Regions from separate parts of the Homo sapiens genome. Here region 2 is linked to region 1. The links are contacts of gene promoters, found by promoter capture Hi-C in human tissues and cell types (Jung and others, 2019). All regions are on one chromosome and are shown on one strand. The core of a region is centred on a gene start or on the middle of the fragment in contact, and the rest is flanking DNA. Distances in the headings are between cores, read along the strand shown.

Region 1 (4,681 bases), core at 1,311-3,810:
ACCCTGAGTTCTAGGTGCTGTTGTGGAGCTTTGCAAACATCTTTTCAAACCCTTAGACATCCTATCACCGTTTGAAAGAAGAGGAAGTGGTGGCTCTTCACCACTTCAGGTTTAGGCACTTTCCAAGATCACACAGGATTGGGATTCCAAATTTAGTACAGATTCCTTCCCTATGCCATGCCGTGTCCCAGTGAATTAATTGAGACTCTAAATGCAATATGTGGAGGCTGAATACATATAAAATATATGCCTAAATTTGAAGTCCGCCGTGGAGATGTCAAACTCTTCCTAGAGGTCTTTCTTTCCTTCAACCCCTTCCACCCTAAACCCCTGTATCCATGCTGTCAACGTGTTGGTTTTTCTACCTCCAAAATATATCCTGTATTTCCTCCACCACTACCACTCTAATACAAGCCACCGGCCCATTGCAGCAGCCCTTCAACTGGTCACCCTTTCTTTCTTTCTTTTATTGATTGATTGATTGATTGAGATGGAGTCTCCCCTGTCGCCCAGGCTGGAATGCAGTGGGATCTCCACTCACTGCAACCTCCACCTCCTGTGGTCACCCTTTTTAAATCTTCACCTTTAATACACACAGGTGATCTTTAAAACTCATTGACCTGGCCGGGTGCAGTGGATCACGCCTGTAATCCCAGCACTTTGGGAGGCCAAGATGGACAGATCACAAGGTCAGGAGATCGAGACCAGCCTGGCCAAGATGATGAAACCCTATCTCTACTAAAAATACAACTATTAGCTGGGTGTGATGACGGGTGCCTGTAATCCCAGCTACTTGGGAGGCTAAGGCAGGAGAATCGCTTGAACAAGGGAGTCAGAGGTTGCAGTGAGCCGAGATTGCACCACTACACTCCAGCCTGGGCAACAGAGCAAGACTCCATCTCAAAAAATAAAAATAAAAATAAATGTTCTGGAATAAGATAGTGGTGAAAAAAAAAGAAAAAGACAGGTTGGTTCAGCAAGTGCAAAGGCCACATTGGTGGAACAGCAAGTGCAAAGGTCCTGGGGCCAACTCAAGCTTGGTATGCAATAAACAGAAAGACAGAGAGAGTAGATGGATATAGCAAAACATGGAGAGGGTGATACAAGATGAGGTTTGAGAGAAAGCTGAGACCAGGTCATTCAGGGTCTTGTGGAGTGCTTGGATTTTATTCTGTGCAAGGGAACGGCATTAGAGTTTTTTTGTTTGTTTGTTTTTGAGACAGAGTTTCACTCTTGTTGCCCAGGCTTGAGTGCAATGGCGCGATCTCGGCTCATCACAACCTCTGCCTCCCAGGTTCAGGCAATTCTCCTGCCTCAGCCTCCCAAGTAGCTAGGATTACAGGCATGCACCACCACACCTGGCTAATTTTTTTTTTTTTTTTTTGTATTTTTAGTAGAGATGGGGTTTCTCCATGTTGGTCAGGCTGGTCTCGAACTCCCGACCTCAGGTGATTCGCCCACCTGGGCAAATGGTCTTGATCGCCTGACCTCGTGATCCGCCTGCCTTGGCCTCCCAAAGTGCTGGGATCACAGGCCTGAGCCACTGTGCCCAGCTAAAAATTTTTTAAAATTAGCTAAGTGTAGTGGCATGTACCTGTGGTCCCAGATACTCTGGAGGCTGAGGAGGGAGGATTGCTTGAGCCCAGGAGGTTGAGGCTACAGTGAACCATGTTCATGCCACTGCACTCTACCCTGGTGACAGAGAAAAAAAAAAGTTGTCTGGCTGGGCATGGTGGCTCACACCTGTAATCCCAGCACTTTGGGACGCTGAGGCAGGTGGATAACTTGATATCAGGAGTTCTGCCAGACGCGGTGGCTCACGCCTGTAATCCCAGGACTTTGGGAGGCCAAGGTGGGCGGATCACCTGAGGTCAGGAGTTCAAGACCAGCCTGGCCGACATGGTGAAACCCCATCTTTACTAAAAATACAAAAATTAGCCGGGCTTGGTGAGGCATGCCTGTAATCCCAGCAACTCCGGAGGCTGAGGCAGGAGAATCGCTTGAACCTAGGAGGCGGAAGTTGCAGTGAGCTGAGATCGCGCCATTGCACTCCAGCTTGGAAAAAAAACAAAAAAGGAATTCTAGACCACCCTGGCCAACATGGTGAAAACCCTGTGTCAATTAAAAAAAATTACAAAATATTAGCCTGGTGTGGTGGCACAAGCGTATAGTCCCAGCTACTTGGGAGGCTGAGGTGGGTGGATCACTTGAGGTCAGGAGTTTGAGACCAGCCTAGCTAACATGGTGAAACCCCATCTCTACTAAAAATAGAAAAATATTGGCCGGGCACAGTGGCTCATGCCTGTAATCCAAGGACTTTGGAAGGCTGAGGCAGGTGGATCACCTGAGGTCAGGAGTTCGAGACCAGCCTGACCAATATGGTGAAACCCCATCTGTGCTAAAACTACAAAAATTAGCCGGGTGTGGTGACATGCGCCTGTAGTCTCAGCTACTCGGGAGGCTGAGACCGGAGAATTGCTTGAATCAGGGCGGTGGAGGATGCAGTGAGCCGAGATTATGCCACTGTACTCCAGCCTGGGCGACAGAGCAAGATTTTCTCTCAAAAAACAAACAAACAAACAAAAACCAACAACAACAAAAAAGTTGTCTGGGTGGAATAGCACAATGGCAGGGCATAGAGCAGAAGAGGTGAGTTTAAGGGATTTATGTACATAGTTTGGAACAGAAGAGCACGTTTGTGTTGCTATTGGGAGTGATCTAGTAGAGAGAGACAGATCAATGATCCCAGACAGAGGGACAGTGATGCACAGAGGGAGGGCCTTAAAAGAGAGGAGCGTATTAGGTCCACATGTAGAGGGATGAATTAGTCCAGCCAAAAAGGGTACCTTTGCTGCAGGATGAAACCCCTGCCCAGGAGCTCCATAGCAGAAGGAACTGCCACACTGTTACTGTTCTGGGGCGGCCACTATTGCTTAGCAACCTGTGCTTAATAAGATGTTTCAACTGAATTCCTAATAAACGGCCATTTCAACTTACGCCAACGGTTCCTGTCACTGGTGTTCCTGCTCTGCTTATCTCATACGCTGAAACTGGATGCTCAGGTTTTTACTTCCTTGTACTGTTGATGTATGCATTTTTTGCTTTTGTTTTTTTTTTTTCTGGAGACGGAGTTTCGCTCTTGTTGCCCAAGCTAGAGTGCAATGGCGTGATCTCAGCTCACTGCAACGTCTGCTTCCTGGGTTCAAGCGATTCTCCTGCCTCAGCCTCCCGAGTAGCTGGGATTACAGGCATGCGCCACCATGCTAGGCTAATTTTTGTATTTAGTAGAGACGGGGTTTCACCATGTTGGTCAGGCTGGTCTCGAACTCCTGACCTCAGTTAATCCACCAACGTCAGTCTCCCTAAAGAGCTGGGATTACAGGTGTGAGCCACCGTGACTGGCCTAATTTTGTATTTTTAGTAGAGACAAGGTTTCTCCGTGTTGGTCAGGCTGGTCTCGAACTCCCAACCTCAGGTGATCTGCCCGCCTCGGCCTCCCAAAGTGCTGGGATTAGGATTACAGGCGTGAGCCACTGCGCCTGGCTTTTTTTTTTTTTTTTTAAAATAGAGTCTCAGCCCAGCACGGTGCCTCACGCCTGTAATCCCAGCACTTTGGGAGACCGAGGCAGGTGGGTCATGAGGTCAGGAGTTCAAGACCAGCCTGGCCAAGATGGTGAAACACCGTCTCTACTAAAAATACAAAAATTAGCTGGGTATGTTGGTGGGTGCCTGTAACCCCAGCTGCTCAGGAGGCTGAGGCAGAGAATTGCTTGAACCCAGGAGGTGGAGGTTGCAGTGAGCCGAGATCATGCCACTGCACTCCAGCTTGGACGACAGAGTGAGACTCCGTCTCAAAAAAAAAAAAAAAAAAGAAAGAAAGAAAGAAAAGAAACAGAGTCAAGCTCTGTCATCCAGGCTGGAGTGCAGTGACACAATCTCAGCTCACTGCAACCTCCGCCTCTGAGGTTCAAGCGATTCTCCTGCCTCAGTCTCCGGAGTAGCTGGGACTATGGGTACGTGCCACCATGCTGGGCTAATGTTTTGTACTTTTTTTAGTAGAGGCAGGGTTTCGCCATGTTGGACAGGGTGGTCTAGAACCCCTGACCTCAAGTGATCCACTTGTCTTGGCCTCCCAAAGTGCTGGGATTACAGGTGTGTCCACCACATCCAGCCACAAGAAACATCTTTTTTTCTTTTCCTTTTTTTTTTTTTTTTTTGAGGTAGGGTCTTGCTCTGTCACCACCCAGGCTGGAGTGCAGTGGTACAATCACAGCTCACTGCAGCCCCAACCTCCCAGGGTCAAGTAATCCTCCCATCTCAGCCTCCTGAGTAGTGGGGACCACAGGTGTGCGCCTCCAGGCATGGCTATTTTTTGTATTTTTTGTAGAGAGGGGGTTTCTCCATGTTGCCCAAGCTGGTCTTGAACTCCTGGACTCAAGCAATCCACCCACCTTGTCCTCCCAAAGTGCTGGGATTACAGGCACAAGTCACTGCACCTGGCCCCCTTGCTTCTTCTCTTGATCCACCTCCAGTTCATTCTTCGCACAGACACTAAATGTAATACAGACATCAAATCAATTTACTCGCCTGCTTAAAACCTTCAAAGGTTTTCCATTGTGCTCTCCTGCTAACTGGAACTTTTCTCCACCTCAGTCTCTATATTCTGGGTCTCTGCCTGAAA
Region 2 (4,681 bases), core at 1,421-3,920, 360 kb before region 1:
GAGGTGAAGACCAGCCATTCCTTGAGGGTGGCGCCCACCCTCCCCTGGAGAAGGAGGAGTCGGGTGTGGAATTCCTGGGGAGCCAGGACTGGGGCTTTTATTTCTGGCTTTGCGCTGACTCAGACCATGACCTTGGGTGAGTCACTCACCAACTCTGCTAAGCTTAAAAACAACTCCCCCAATAAAAATGTCCCAGCCCCAAGCCCCCATCACAGGGGAGCAGATGGGAGGAATGGGTACGGTGGTTTAAAAATAGAAAGGACGGGGAACACAAGGATGACGCTGGAAGGGCTTCCCGAACATCGGGAGCTTGTGCATGGTGGGCCCTGGGAGAGTGAGAAAACAAACTCAGGACCCCCGGGCAGGAGCTGACACTTCCCTGGCTCCTCCCCCTCCCCCAGCCTCCCAGATGCTCCTTAAAATACATCAGTGCCTGAACTGCTCTTGCAGCCTGAGGTGACCTGATTAAACCTGGTCCTTCCCCCACACAGCCTGTGTGCCTGCGTCTGTGCATGAGGGCTGCCCCAGCCAATACTTGAGCTTAATTATTTAAGAGACCCTGTAGTCCTCCTTGTCACATGCCCAGGCTGCCCTGGGGAACTGCTGTGGTTAAGGCCTTTGGGCTTCTGTGGCTTGGGTGGTGGTGGGGAAACCAGGACGGCACTGGGAGAGCCAAATACGCACCCCAGTCCCACCTGTGCTTGGCTGTGCGACCCTAGGCAAGTCACTTTCCCATTTTGAGACCCCCTAGAGAGAGGAATAGACTGGTCAAAGTCATACATACATACAGCATCTGAACTTGAACTCCAATCAGTGTGACCCCACAGCTTTCTGGTGTGCCATGCCAGCCCCCCAGCCCAGGAGTGTCATTTTGCTGGCTGTGGGGCAGAAGAGCTCCCTACTACTTTTAGCCTCCCATTTTGCTGCTCAGCATGGACAAAGGTCTGAACTGCCCCAAGCCCCATTCCTACAAGGCTCTGGGTCCTGGCTGCCCCAGTTGTGACCGTGGACATGACTGGCTCAGCCAGGTCCTGAGCGCCCTCTACCCCCTAGGGGGCTCTACTCCAGACTGGCTGGCAGGTGTCCCCTCCCCACCAGCCATCTGAGAGTGTCCCCAAGTCCCCCTCAGGGAATCCCCCTGCGCATCCGTGAACATTGCCTAGCCATGTCTCTCCAAGCCTGGGAGAGCCATCTGTGGCCAAAACTGTCCTCTGGCCTTTCCCAGGACACGGGCAGGCAGTTCCTGTCTATACCTGTCTTTTTTTTTTTTTTTGAAGGGGGTGAGGATGGGTCAAGATGGGCAGACACAGAAAACAGACATTTTTGGAGAAGACTTCAAGGAAATGGGGGGCGGCAGGGCAAAGCTGGGAGGAGGAAACATTCAGAATTTGGAGGGTCCAGAGGACTCTGGGATGGAGTCAGGTTTGGGAAACCAGTTCCCCATCCCCCAGAAAGCTGGAGACCCCCTTTCCCAGGGAGAGGCCCCTGCCGGATCACAGCCAGGCAGCATGATGCCAGGCTCTCAGAGAGGTTGCCCACCCCCCACTGGGCATACTTCCTCCTCTCCTACCCCAGCCCCAGTGGATGCAGCAGTTCACACTCTGTATTTATTATTGTTCTCGCTCTGTGTCCCCCTCCCCTCTCCCTGGGAAGAGCCTGCAGGCTGGCAGCTTGGCAGGAACCTGCTGTCTCCTTGTGGGTGCCAGCGTCGCCCCTTATCTCCGCCTGGACTCCTTGTGCCAGGGTCAGGCCATTCATGGGCTTGGCACCAGCCAAGGCCACCCTAAGTCCCTGTATCCCAAGATAGAGGCCTGGCAGGCCCTGACTTATCACCCCTGCCCTCCGGGGGCTGTGCCCTGGCAAGGGTGGAGGTCAGAGCAGACCAGCAGGCAGGCAAGAAGCAAGGGCTCGGGGTGGGGTGGTACCTGGGGGAAGAGAATAACCACACGGAGCCACCTCTCTAAGCCAACTAACACAATTATCCCCATCACACTGGGGAAAAAATAGAGTCAGGATAAGACAGCTGCTCCAGGTCCAACTGTCTGCCTTTCCCAGCCGGTCCCTTCCCAGCCCAACATTCCAGGGGAAGGACCAGCAAGGGTCCCTGCTGCACTCTGCTTTCAGCAACTGGAAGCGGCACTGGGGTTTCTCTGGTCAAGGCGGTCCTCTCTCCCGCTGCTTCCCAGACAGGAGGCTGCGGCTTGGCAGGTATCTGCTGCTCTCTGCCTCCTGAGCCAGACGCAGGTCCCAGACACAGACACAGACACAGACACAGACATGCTCCCACGGGAGCCACACGGCCTCACCTCATTTGGGGGTCACGGGGAGAGAATGAGGGAGGGAGAGACAGGTGGTATCCTCTATACCCCCAACACCCTATCTGTAAGCTGAACTGGGCTGATCCAGCCCCCACCTTCACGTTGTACCTCTCTCCTTCGGCCTGGCCAAAGCCACAGTTTCTGGCACAGTGTCCTCAGGCCCCATCTAGCCCCTCACCTCTCCTGGGCAGCTGGGGTCCAGGCACTGCCTCCTGCGGCGTCCGCGCTCTGTCTCTCTCTGGCTCGTGGAGCTGGCAGGCAGGGGATGGGTCTGGAAGATGTGTGTGTGTGTGTGTGTGTGTGTGTGTGTGTGTGTCTGTGTGTGCTCGCGCGGGCGGTACCTCAGCCCCTCACTCACTCACACGCCTTCCAGCTGACGTCAGGGAGAGCAGGAGGGAGGGATGAGAATTTGTACTCCCTGCTTAAAGGGACACCAGGCTCTGTGGCTCATGGCCCAGACATCACCTCCTGAGTCAGGCACTGCCAGGTGAGAGGCTCAGCTGCGTCTCTCGGGGGCCTTAAAGCTTCTTTTTTTGGAAAGTGGCTTTTATGGTCGGGCCACGGTATAATTTGCCCTGCCCAGTGAGGGCAGCTGCTGAGGAATGCAGGGGAGGAAGAACCTGAGACAGCGCCACGTTCCTGGTAATTAGAGAGCAAGTGGGGTGGTGAGTTTGAGTGTGAGTGTGTGAGTGCACACTGGGGGGCCCCTCGGGGTGGGTGGGCATGAGTGGGGGTGAGTCTGGGAGAATGGAGGTCAGAGCCAAGAGGAGCCCCCCAGAGGGGTCGAGACAAGCCAGGTTCCCAGGGACACCCAGACACTCGTCTCCCCTCCGGACGCTCAGTGGTCCTGCCCTCTGCTAGTACAGACACTGACACGGCTCATCTCTGTCTACCCCTTGTAATATTTCCATGGAATTGAATTGACGAGGACCCCAAGGAAGTGATCGGCTTGAAGGTGCACAGGTGAACACCCCACAGCCTGGGAGGCTCTGAGTAGAGAAGTAGAGAGGGCTGATTGAATTCAGGCACCCAGCCTGTTCTACACCACACGCCCTGGCTTCGAAGTGCTCCGCACTGTCAAGCTGTGTGACCTTGGGCCAGCCCCTGAGGGCCTTTGGAGGTTGAGTGTGTGATGTTCCTAAACCCAGGGCCAGCTGGAGGAGGCCTCCACAAAGGTGCTTCTCTTCGTTCTTCCCATTCCTTCTCAGCCTCAGCTTGGAAAGAAGGAAGCCTTTCCCTGGTGTCTCCTGGTACTACTGAGGCAGGCTGGCATTTTCAAAAGGAGTCTTTTTAAAATAAAAAGGAGGTGGGAGTTAAAAGGGAAACCGCAGAGAAAAATACAAGTAACTAATACAAATAGCTAAGACGCCACAAGAGCTTGCTCTGTTTCAGGCAGCAAGCTTTGCCCTCATTGAAACCTCACAACAATTTAATAATTTATTTTTATCATCCCTACTTTACCGGTGAGGAATTAGAGGCTCAGGGAGGAGGAAGGACTTGACTTGCCTATATTCTTCCAACTGGCTAGAGAGGTACTGGAACCCAGGAGCACCCAGTGTCACCACACGCCCCTGCCCTTCCAGAACCTCTCAGGACAATCAGGCTCAGACAGTCTGGGTTTCTGGTTCTGCAGGAGAGACTGTTGAGAAATGCTGCCTGTGGTTACCTGGGGATGTTCTGAATTATTATTATTTTTTTTAGAGAGTATTGCTGTGTCGCCCAGGCTGGAGGGCAGTGGCTTGATCTCAGCTCGCTGCAACCTCCGCTTCCCGGGTTCAAGCGATTCTCCTGCCTCAGCCTCCTGAGTAGCTGGGACTACAGACACACACCACCACACCCAGCTAATTTTTTTGTATTTTTAGTAGAGACAGGGTTTCACTATGTTGGCCAGAATGGTCTCGATCTCCCGACCTCGTGATCCACCCACCTCAGCCTCCCAAAGTGCTGGGATTACAGACGTGAGCCACCGCGCCCAGCCAGGGTTCTGATTTTATTTCACAGCCCCACCTGAGAACTCTACCCAGAGGAGCCTCCCTTCCCCTTTAAATTCTCCTCTCTCTTTCCTCCTTTTTATTTATTTATTTTTTCTTTTTTGAAACAGGGTCTTGCTTTGTTACCCAGGCTAGAATGCAGTGGCTCAATCACAGTTCACTGCAGCTTCCAACTCCTGGGCTCAAATGATCCTCCCGCCTCAGCCTCATGAGTAGCTGGGACTACAGGGGTGCACCACCATGCCTGGCTAAGTTTTCAAAAAATTTTTATAGAGATGGGGTCTCATTATGTTGCCCAGGCTAGTCTCAAACTCCTGGCCTCAAGCGATCCTCCTACCTTGGCCTCCCAAAGTGCTGGGATAACATCGTCTC

What was found. Contacts are between HindIII fragments. The study calls those that stand out against the background at their distance.
Region 2: the fragment with the promoter of CSDC2 here is called in contact with a fragment that was not itself captured in region 1 in 1 of the 25 tissues and cell types used here (aorta).

Annotation. Positions count from the first base shown.
Region 1 is chr22:41,199,680-41,204,360 of GRCh38, reverse strand. No RefSeq gene overlaps it. Among named protein-coding and RNA genes, the nearest start is that of L3MBTL2, 3.3 kb to the left of the region's middle. The HindIII fragment of the contact is 6,746 bases long and covers 1-4,681 here.
Region 2 is chr22:41,558,999-41,563,679 of GRCh38, reverse strand. CSDC2 (cold shock domain containing C2) reads right to left here and starts at 2,670. Exons shown (of 4, transcript NM_014460.4): 1 at 2,497-2,670. It overlaps LOC105373044 (a long non-coding RNA gene), which reads left to right and starts at 2,797. Exons shown (of 2, transcript NR_134631.1): 1 at 2,797-2,960. The HindIII fragment of the contact is 6,219 bases long and covers 1,503-4,681 here.